2 separate regions of the Homo sapiens genome follow, and region 1 is linked to region 2. Evidence: promoter capture Hi-C in human tissues and cell types (Jung and others, 2019). All regions are on one chromosome and are shown on one strand. The core of a region is centred on a gene start or on the middle of the fragment in contact, and the rest is flanking DNA. Distances in the headings are between cores, read along the strand shown.

What was found. The method cuts DNA at HindIII sites, captures the fragments that hold promoters and counts their contacts. A contact is called where the count stands out against the background at its distance.
Region 1: a fragment that was not itself captured here is called in contact with the fragment with the promoter of RAD23A in region 2 in 1 of the 25 tissues and cell types used here (dorsolateral prefrontal cortex).

The regions. Positions count from the first base shown.
Region 1 is chr19:12,683,316-12,688,459 of GRCh38, forward strand. GNG14 (G protein subunit gamma 14) reads left to right here and starts at 4,683. Exons shown (of 1, transcript NM_001316692.2): 1 at 4,683-5,107. The coding sequence starts at 4,734. The coding sequence ends at 5,057. RefSeq lists an enhancer at 1-308. The HindIII fragment of the contact is 4,816 bases long and covers 376-5,144 here.
Region 2 is chr19:12,944,017-12,949,835 of GRCh38, forward strand. It overlaps RAD23A (RAD23 nucleotide excision repair protein A), which reads left to right and starts at 1,846. Exons shown (of 9, transcript NM_005053.4): 1 at 1,846-2,004; 2 at 3,832-3,993; 3 at 4,161-4,342; 4 at 4,481-4,536; 5 at 4,670-4,797; 6 at 5,065-5,143; 7 at 5,259-5,392. The coding sequence starts at 1,933. It overlaps CALR (calreticulin), which reads left to right. Exons shown (of 9, transcript NM_004343.4): 9 at 1-473. RefSeq lists enhancers at 1,624-2,316, 1,728-1,947, 3,263-4,462 and silencers at 2,008-2,087, 2,098-2,287, 2,308-2,367, 2,339-2,633. The HindIII fragment of the contact is 31,996 bases long and covers 1-5,819 here.

The DNA.
Region 1 (5,144 bases), core at 1,534-4,033, 260 kb before region 2:
GCCAGGGTAGTCTCGATCTCCTGACCTCGTGATCCGCCCGCCTCAGCCTCCCAAAGTGCTGGGATTACAGGCATGAGCCACCGCGCCTGGCCTGCTGCTATTTTTTGATAGGGTCTCACTCTGTCGCCAGGCTGGAGTGCTGTGACGCGATCTCGGCCCACTGCAACCTCTGACTCCCGGACTCAGGTCATCCTCCCACCCCAGCATTCCGACTAGTGTGCACCATCGTGCCCAGCTAATTTTTTTATGAGGGTCACTTTTTTTTTTTTTTTTTTTTTTGAGACAGAGTCTCGCTCTGTCGCCCAGGCTGGAGTGCAGTGGCGCAATCTCGGCTCACTGCAAGCTCTGCCTCCCAGGTTCATGCCATTCTCCTGCCTCAGCCTCCCGAGTAACTGGGACTACAGGTGCCCGCCACCACACCCGGCTAATTTTTTCTGTTTTTAGTAGAGATGGGGTTTCACCGTGTTAGCCAGGATGGTCTCGATCTCCTGAACTCGTGACCCGCCCGCCTTGGCCTCCCAAAGTGCCAGGATTACAGGCGTGAGCCACTGCGCCCGGCCGAGGGTCACTTCTTAAGCGTCACCCATGGACAAGATTTCGGTCACCAGGCAGAGTTAGACACAGTTTCATCCTTCCTCAGCCACTTTTGTCTAATGGGATAGTGAGCCCGGTTCGTGCCCTCACAAGTCTCCAAAGCCTTCACATGCTGCATAACGCTCTGTTCTTCCTTCCCTTATAGCTGCAGCTGTCACCTCCACCTCCTCTGGGAAGCCTTCCCTGAACTCCCACTGGGTCAGTGGCCTCTTCTGGGACCCAGGGCTGACGTCTCTTTCCCTCCTGCAAGAATGTGAGACCCTGGGTGTCATCTGTATCTCAAACACACCCTCCTAACAGTGCATACGGCCAACAGGATTATTCACTCACTCTACAATTCATGTAGTCTATTCTCTATGGTGGGCTCCGTGCTAGGCACTAAGGATTTAGTGGTGAACAAGACCAAGATGTGGACCCTGCCCTACTGGAGCCCACAATCTGATTGGGAAGATAGAAAGTTAACAATAGTGGTGAGTGCTATCAGGCCTTTTTTGTTTTTTGTTTTTTTTGGAGACAGAGTTTCGCTCTTGTTGCCCAGGCTGGAGTGCAATGGCGCGATCTCCACTCATCGCAACCTCTGCCTCCCAGTTTCAAGCAATTCTCCTGCCTCAGCCTCCCGAGTAGCTGGGATTACAGGCATGAGCCATCACGCCCGGCTAATTCTTGTATTTTTAGTAGAGATGGGGTTTCACTATGTTGGTCAGGCTAGTCTCGAACTCCTGACCTCAGGTGATCTGCCTGCCTCGGCCTCCCAAAGTGCTGGGATTACAGGTGTGAGCCACCGCGCCCAGCGCAATCAGGATTTAAACAGGATAATTTGAGTCTTTAGGTGGAGGAGTTCGGGATTTTAGTTGGAGGGATGGGTGAAGGACGCCAAGGAGGTGAGATTTGAGCCAAAGCCAGAAGGCTGAGAAAATCCCCGTATGTGAAGATGCAGAGAGGCCATTTCCTGCACATGGGAAGACAGAACAGCAAAAGCCGTGAGGCTGGAATGAGCCTACCTTGTTGGAGGAGACAGACATCCTCCTTGACATCCTCGCTTGGACCTCAAAGTTGCCCCCTCAGCTCCCTCTCCACCTATCCCTGATCTTTCTGCATCTCAGCAAACGGCCCCACCCTCCACTCATCCACTAGACTGAAAAATAGGGATTGGGGCTGGGCGCGGTGGCTCACACCTGTAATCCCAGCACTTTGGGATGCCAAGGAGGGCAGATCACCTGAGGTTAGGAGTTAGAGACCAGCCTGGACAACATGGCGAAACCCCGTCTCTACTAAAAAATACAAAAATTAGCCGGGTGTGGTGGCGCACACCCATAATCCCAGCTACTCAGGAGGCTGAGGCAGGAGAATCACTTGAACCCGGGAGGTGGAGGTTGCAGTGAGCTGAGATGGTGCCACTGCACTCCAGCCTGGGCAACAGAGCGAAACTCCGTCTCAAAAATAGATAAATAAAAATTAAAAATGAGGAGCGCAGCTTGCTGTCTCCCCTTTTCTCACACCCCACATCCATCCTTCTCAGCATGTCTGCCAACCTCTACCTATAAAGTAGGTCCGAAATCCAGGTGTTTTCTTTATCCCCATAGCCTGCAAGCTGGCTTTGGTATCCTCCAACCCATCTCCCACCTAACAGCTAAAATCAGAGAGCTTTTTTTTTTTTTTTTTTTTTTTTGAGACGGAGTCTTGCTCTGTCGCCCAGGCTGGAGTGTAGTGGTGTGATTTCGGCTCACTACAAGCTCCACCTCCCGGGTTCACGCCAGTCTCCTGCCTCAGCCTCCCAAGTAGCTGGGACTACAGGCGCCCGCCACACGCCCAGCTAATTTTTTGTATTTTTAGTAGAGACGGGGTTTCACCATGTTAGCCAGGATGGTCTTGATCTCCTGACCTCGTGATCCGCCCACCTCAGCCTCCCAAAGTGCTGGGATTACAGGCATGAGCCACCGTGCCCAGCCGCTGAGCTTTTTTTTTTGATGCAGGGTCTCACTCTGTCACCAGGGCTGGAGTGCAGTGGGACAATCACACCTCACTGCAGCTTCGACCTCCTGGCCTCAAGTGATCCTCCCACTTCAGCCTCCCCAGTAGCTGGGACTACAGGTGCATGCCACAGCTCTTTAACCATAAATCAAACATGTCACTGTTAAAACCTCCTAATGGTAGCTTCCCCCTGGGAGTAAAATCCAAGCTTTTCACAGTGGCCTTAAAGGGCACCTCTCAACCTCCCTGCTGCCATCTCCCACCATGCTGGCCCTCCCTCCCTCTCTCCTCTCCAGCTACACAGACCTCTTTGCTATTCCTGGAACCCACCAAGCTCTTTTTTGTCCAAGGAGTCAGGTACTTGCCGCTCCTTCTGCCTAGAACACCCCATTTCTCAGTTCCTTCTCCTCCTTTGGGCCTAAGTTCAAATGTCACCTCCTCTGAGAGGCCTGCCCTGACCACTCCTCTCCCCTTTACTTTGATTTTATTCTTCTTTCATATGCCCTTTCACATGTATACTCTTTCACTGAGTACATTTTCTGTTGTCCATCCCTGCCTAACTAGAAAGGCAGCTCCATGAGGGCAAGGTTTTGTCTTGTTTCATTGCTAATTTGGGTTTTTGCACAGTGCTGGGCACATATTAGAATCTCGGGGCAGGGCTCAGTGGCTTATGCCTATAATTCCTTTGGAAGGCCAAGGCAAGAGGATCGTTTGAGGCCAGGAGTTCAAGACCAGCCTGGGCAACATAGTAAGAACCATCTCTACAAAAAGTTAAAAACATAAATTAGCAGGGCACGGTGGCTCACGCCTATAATTCTAGCTAATCAGGAGGCTGAGTTGAGAGGATCACTTGAGCCCAGGAGTTTGAAGTTACAGTGAGCTATGATTGTACCACTGCACTCCAGCCTGGACGACAGAGCGAGAACCTGGGCTTAAAAAAAGAAAAGAAGGCCAGGCACGATGGCTCACACCTGTAATCCCAGCACTTTGGGAGGCCGAAGCAGGTGGATCACTTGAGGTCAGGAGTTCGAGACCAGCCTGGCCAACATGGTGAAACCCCTTCTCTACTAAAAATACAAAAATTAGCCAGGTGTGGCCGGGCGCAGTGGCTCATGCCTGTAATCCCAGCACTTTGGGAGGCTGAGGCAAGTGGATCACCTGAGATCAGGAGTTCAAGACCAGCCTGACCAACATGGTGAAACCTCATCTCTACTAAAAATACAAAAAATTAGCCGAGCATGGTGGCACATGCCTGTAATCCCAGCTACTCGAGAGGCTGAGGCAGAAGAATCGCTTGAACCCAGAAGGCGGAGGTTGCAGTGAGCCGAAATCACGCTATTGCACTCTAGCCTGGGCAACAAGAGCGAAATACCATCTCAAAAAAAAAAAAAAAAAAAAAATTAGCCGGGTGTGGTAGCATACGCCTGTAATCCCAGCTACTCAGGAGGCTGAGGCAGGAGAATCACTTGAGCCCGGGAGGTGGAGGTTGAAAGTGAGCTGAGATCGCACCACTGCACTCCAACATGGGTGATAGAGCAAGACTCTCTCTCAAAAAAAAAAAAAAAAAAAAAAAAAAGAACGAAGGCATTGGAGATTTGAGCCTGAGCAGTGGCGACAACAGGAGGAGAGGCAAGGCTGCATGTTGGAGATGGCAGAGGCTGACAAAGCAGATGTGTTGGGAACAGTTAGCAGGAGATCCAGCAGGCCAGGGGGAGGCCAGGGCCTCCTCACTCCCCCAGCCAAGGCACCTAGCCCACAGGGACCCAGGTGACACATGACACCAGAGGAGCCACAGGGCCTCCTGGGGCAGGGACCCCCTCAGCCGAGGCAGCAGCTGCTGCTGCAGCTGGTGACATTTCACTCCATGAGAGCCCTGGCTTCAAAGTCTTTGCAGGGGTAGCCGAGGGAGAAAAGGGGGTTGAAGAGGACAGGCTGGGTTGGGGAGGGAGCCACAGCAGGGTGGCCACCAGAGGACCAGGCAGCCAGAGGTGACTTGGGCCGGAGCCCTTAGCCGAGGTGTGTGGGCCTGATGGGTCCAGGAGCAGCCACCCTCATCCTGCAGCCCCCAAGGAACATAGAAGGAGGTGTGGGAACCCTCGGGCAGCCCTAGGCTCCCCCTAGGGGACTGAGGTTGGGCCTGCTGCCCACGGCCTGCCCACTTTACCCAGATGTCCAGCAAGGTGGCCATCAACAGTGACATTGGGCAGGCCCTCTGGGCAGTGGAGCAGCTCCAGATGGAGGCAGGCATCGACCAAGTGAAGGTGAGGGTCGGGGCCAGTGCAGGAGGCGGGAAGAGGTGGGAACACATGGGCCAGGGGACAGGTGCATGCCTGGGTCTGGTCTGGCTGAACCAGTTGGTCTGCAGGTGTCCAAAGATGGCCGCCGATCTGCTGAAGTTCTGCACGGAGCAGGCCAAGAATGACCCCTTCCTTGTGGGCATCCCGGCCGCCACCAACTCCTTCAAGGAGAAGAAGCCCTATGCCATCCTATGAACCCAGGGCAATGCCACCCTGTGGCCTGGGCAAACCAGGGGGCCTCAATAAACATGAAGTGAATACTTCTCAGGGCATGGCTGAGCT
Region 2 (5,819 bases), core at 596-3,095:
CAGGCTGGTTCGGATTTGGGGTGGATTTTGGTTTTGTTCCCCTCCTCCACTCTCCCCCACCCCCTCCCCGCCCTTTTTTTTTTTTTTTTTTAAACTGGTATTTTATCTTTGATTCTCCTTCAGCCCTCACCCCTGGTTCTCATCTTTCTTGATCAACATCTTTTCTTGCCTCTGTCCCCTTCTCTCATCTCTTAGCTCCCCTCCAACCTGGGGGGCAGTGGTGTGGAGAAGCCACAGGCCTGAGATTTCATCTGCTCTCCTTCCTGGAGCCCAGAGGAGGGCAGCAGAAGGGGGTGGTGTCTCCAACCCCCCAGCACTGAGGAAGAACGGGGCTCTTCTCATTTCACCCCTCCCTTTCTCCCCTGCCCCCAGGACTGGGCCACTTCTGGGTGGGGCAGTGGGTCCCAGATTGGCTCACACTGAGAATGTAAGAACTACAAACAAAATTTCTATTAAATTAAATTTTGTGTCTCCCTCCTGTGTCTCCTTCTGGGGAAAGACAGACTTAAGGAAACCCAGCAGTGGTCTTTTTGGGGGGGGGGGGGGTTTCCAGTATATCTCCTTTTTCAGCTATTGCTAGAGAGGTTGCTGAGTGTTCCACAAGATTCCAGGGACCCTTATTTACCCCATAACCCTCAAAACCAACGGGGGAATGGCTGTTGCTGCTGTAAATACTCCACATACTAACTTACTGAATCCTTGAACCTAACTGGTAAGTTTTGGTTCTGCTTATTTATTTATTTTTAAGATAGACTCTCGCTCTGTTGTCCAGGCTGGCGTACAGTGGCTCAATCTGGTTCACCCTGCCCCTTAAACTGGCCTTTTTCATGCTTCTATTCCTTTGGGGTCCTGTGGCTCAGCCCAACCCCTCTGGGATGCCTCCAGGACTGGTAGATCCAAGGGAGAATTCTGTATTTAATGTAGTGAGGCTTTGAAAGTTAACATCTTTAAATACTTCTGGGGTCAGATTAGGTATAGTACAACAAAGTACTCCTGCCCGGAGACCCAAGAATGAAAATTGTAGGTTCATTCCAAAACTCCAGATCCCTAAAGAATGAATGAGGCTACAAAATGGCACCTTGCCCCCGCTTCCAACTTAAGGTTTTTTTTCTGTGCTTGGTGGCCTTTCAGGTATTTCTAGTTTTGAGTAACTTTCACTTTGACTGCTCTACAAGGGTTCCTGCCAGGATACCCAGACCAGAATAAAACTCATTTGGGGGCCGGGTACGGTGGTTCACGCCTGTAATCCCAGCACTTTGGGAGGCCGAGGCGGGTGGATCACCTGAGGTCAGGAGTTTTGAGACCAGCCTGGCCAACACGGTGAAACCCAATACAAAAAATTATCCGGGCGTGGTGGGGGGTGCCTGTAATCCCAGTTACTCGGGAGGCTGAGGCAGGAGAATTGCATGAACCCGGAAGGCGGAAGCTGCAGTGAGCCGAGATCGCGCCACTGCACTCCAGCCTGGGTGACAGAGACTGTTTGAAAGAAAAAATTCTCATTTGGAAGAGGCAAAATGAGGTTTTTACAGAAGAAATACAAATGTCTGTAACCAGTACAGGTACATAAAAACTTTGTTAAAAATTCATTTGAGCGTGAGAGTGGGGACACCAGAGTCACTTTGCAGCCCCGTGACGTCACCGATAACGGGCATGGCGTCACTCAGGAGACCACGTGTGCGGGCCGAGCAAGAAGCCCCGCCCACAGCGCGGAGTTTAGTCTGCGCGTGCCTCGCTCGAGAACGCGCTCGTGCGCATGCCCACAAAGGCCAAGGAGGGAGTGCGCAGGTCACGTGCGCCGGTGGTCAGCGCGCGCATTGCCTGCCCCGGAAGTGGTCGGCGCGCGGCGCGGCGCGCCTGGGCGCTAAGATGGCGGCGGCGTGAGTTGCATGTTGTGTGAGGATCCCGGGGCCGCCGCGTCGCTCGGGCCCCGCCATGGCCGTCACCATCACGCTCAAAACGCTGCAGCAGCAGACCTTCAAGATCCGCATGGAGCCTGACGAGACGGTGCGGGCCGGGCCGGAGCCCGGGGGCGGGAGCGACGGGTTTCGGGGGTGGGGTGGGGGCGGGGAGGCTAGAATCCCAACGGGAGGGGCAGGGAGGACGGCGCGGGTCGGCCCTGCCCAGACCCCCGACCTGCCCGACTTTCCTGGACCCCCCGATGGTCTTTGGCCCAGCCCCCAGCCGATCGGGCGGCGCTCCTGCGCCGGTCTCCGGGCGAGGCCCCACCCCCGGGGCGCTGGCCAGGCCCCGGCTCCAATGTCAGCGCTCTCGCGGGGCGCGGGAGTCACAAGCTCGGATTCCTGGGCAGGCCAAGCTCTCCAAGACTGGGCTCCACGTTCCCAGCTTTGCAGGCGTCTCCTTGGGACACTGGTGGTCGAATCTAGGAGTAATGACCAGGAGATACTGAGTAGTGACGACAACAACGATGTTAATGATAATAAACGGGTCTCAGTCTTTATAATTTTGGTGGTCCGTGTTTGTTGGCCGTTTACTTTTTATCAGTCACCGAGTGTTGTAGTGTTGTTTTACCGCTCTGCAAAACGGGCTTGTCATTGGGGACCTCTGATCATTTTACAGATGTGGAAACCTAGGGATTGAGGAACTTTGCCACAGTCACACACAAGTAATGGCAGAGCTGGGATTCAAATTCGGTTCTGCCTCGTGTGAGCGTCCACGATATAAATATTATGCTGCCTTTTTAGTCAAAAGTAGAATTAGGACCTAATTCAAACATACTGAATGTCTATTGGGTACTTGGCGCTTTTTGCATAGTGAGGGAGACATTGAAGTCCACTTTTTGTAGAAAAGGAAACACACATTTTTTGATCCGCTCAAGTGTTTGGCTTTGGGCAAGTTAACCTGCCTACCTGTCTGTGCCTCCGTTTTCTCAAATATCAAATGAACCGGTCGCCTGCTGGCTTCCGCCTGTAATCCCAGCACTTAGGGAGGCAGAGGGAAGAGGAGCCCTTGAGCCTAGGAATTCGAGATCATCCTGGCAACACAGTGAGACCCCGTTCTCTACAAAAAAAAGAAACAAAAATCAATAAATAAAATGAGACCAATTAAACGTATTTCATAGGAAACTTAAAAGGTATGACACATATACATTTACAGTAGCACTATTGGCCAGGCACGGTGGCTCATGCCTCTAATCCTGATGATTTGGGAGGCAGAGGCAGGAGGATTGCTTGAGGCCAGGAGTTTGAGACCAGCCAGTCTAACATAGGGAGACTCTTATCTACAAAAAAAAATTATTTTTAATTAGTCTGGAGTGGTGGTGTGTACCTTTAGTCCTAGCTACTCCCAAGGCTGGACAAGAGTACCAGTTGAGCCCAGGAGTTTGAGGCTGCAGTCAGCGATGATCGTGCCACATCAATCCAGCATGGGCGGCAGCGAGATCCTGCCTCTTAAAATTAAAAAATATCACTATTAACTATTAGTCACTTATTGTCCAAGGTAGAGTGTAGAGTGGGGGACTGTCCCCTTTATTCTGTTAATTATACTTTATACTACCCGAAATTACATTTTCTTCACATTAGTGTTCTCTCATTGAGAGCAGGGACTTACTTGTGTTGAGTTTGTTCTGTGCTGTGGCCTCTGTGTCTAAAACAGCACCTGGCACATAATGGGTGTTTAGTATAAGTAAATACTGTGTTGAATGGCATGATGATTGAATGAATTCAAATCTAGCATGCTTTAGATGCTGAGAAAGCTTAAAAAACCCAGCGTGCTTGCCTTTCTGCCATCAGGGCTGGCAGTTTCTCTGTCCTAAACTAGAAGGGAAAAGAGAATCTTGGGGTCTCCAGTGACTGTCTGTACCACTCCCTCTAGGTGAAGGTGCTAAAGGAGAAGATAGAAGCTGAGAAGGGTCGTGATGCCTTCCCCGTGGCTGGACAGAAACTCATCTATGCCGGCAAGATCTTGAGTGACGATGTCCCTATCAGGGACTATCGCATCGATGAGAAGAACTTTGTGGTCGTCATGGTGACCAAGGTGGGTGACGTGTGCTGGCTGGGAGGGTGGGTGGACGAGCTGGGGAGCTGGCAAAGAGCCTGTGTGCCCAGGAGAGATTAGCTGTGAACAGGGCGGGGCCACAGCGGAGCGGGTTGTTGGGTCTGATAGGGTTGCTGATGCCAGCTCCCTTTTTCTTGCTGTTGCAGACCAAAGCCGGCCAGGGTACCTCAGCACCCCCAGAGGCCTCACCCACAGCTGCCCCAGAGTCCTCTACATCCTTCCCGCCTGCCCCCACCTCAGGCATGTCCCATCCCCCACCTGCCGCCAGAGAGGACAAGAGCCCATCAGAGGAATCCGCCCCCACGACGTCCCCAGAGTCTGTGTCAGGGTAAGGCGGGGGCAGCAGTCCCAGCTTGGGCCCTGTCCTCCTAGCACATTCCAGCGTCCACATAAGTGGTCCCACACACCTGGAGGGAGGGCAAGCCGCCAGAAGCCAGGGTCCGATTTCTCTCTCTTGAATTTGCAGCTCTGTTCCCTCTTCAGGTAGCAGCGGGCGAGAGGAAGACGCGGCCTCCACGCTAGGTGGGTGGGTGGTCCCCAGGGCAGAGGTGACTGGGTGCCCCAGCCATCAGCTGGGCCTTGTCTGGGTGCGGGAGGGCCTGGGAGCTGCCCTTTCCTCTTCCTGGTGACCTAGGCTTTGCTGCTTCCTCCACAGTGACGGGCTCTGAGTATGAGACGATGCTGACGGAGATCATGTCCATGGGCTATGAGCGAGAGCGGGTCGTGGCCGCCCTGAGAGCCAGCTACAACAACCCCCACCGAGCCGTGGAGTATCTGCTCACGGTGAGGTGGGGCTTCCGCCTCCCGGGGAGGCCTTGAGGGAGTACCCGGGCGTCACTGCCCTGATGGGCGGTTGGGAAGGCAAAACCTGCCCTGAAAAGCCTTTGGGTAGTGATTCTAGCCACTAAAGGCTTCCCACAGGAGGCTGGATGTGAGTGATGGGTGGGCCTCTGGAGGGCAGGGCCGAGGCCTCATCTGTGTCCTGCCAGGGCATGGAGGAGGGTGGCAGCAGGAGGTCTGTGCATTAGAACTAAACAGGACCCCTGACAGGGAATTCCTGGGAGCCCCGAGCCGGAACACGGTTCTGTCCAGGAGAGCCAGGTATCGGAGCAGCCGGCCACGGAAGCAGGTGGGTGTGCACATGCCGCATCTGCCCTCCAGGTACCTGACTCACATTACACTCCACCCCGCAGTGCTCCTAGGAGCCCGGCGTGGTGTCTGACTGCACCCCTTCCTACTACCAGCAGGAGAGAACCCCCTGGAGTTCCTGCGGGACCAGCCCCAGTTCCAGAACATGCGGCAGGTGATTCAGCAGAACCCTGCGCTGCTGCCCGCCCTGCTCCAGCAGCTGGGCCAGGAGAACCCTCAGCTTTTACAGGTGTGGTCCCAAGGGCAGAGGGAGCTAGGGCAGCCACCATTTCCCTTCCCTGTGGGCACCAGAGTCCATAACACGTAGGAATCGTTCTAGGTCCGGAAAGCAGGACTAAGCACATGCTTCCCCCACGCCCCTGTGCTTCCTGTGACCTGGTGACCCCCCTGGTTTCTCAGTCTTCCCAACCACCTTGTAAGGTGTGGGTGCTGTCAACATCACCTCCCACAGAAGAAGACACCGGAAACTTAGAGCAGCCTGTCATTCCCAGGGTCACGCAGCTGGTAGTGTGTGTGTCTGCCTCCTGCCTCGGGGTGGGGTCCTGGGCTGGGGCTCTGGCTTCACATACAGATGGTGCTGCGTAAATGTCTGTAAGGTGGCATGACGTCACCCAGGACAGCTGTGCCCCAGTTGGCTCTGGGACAACTCTGCTCAG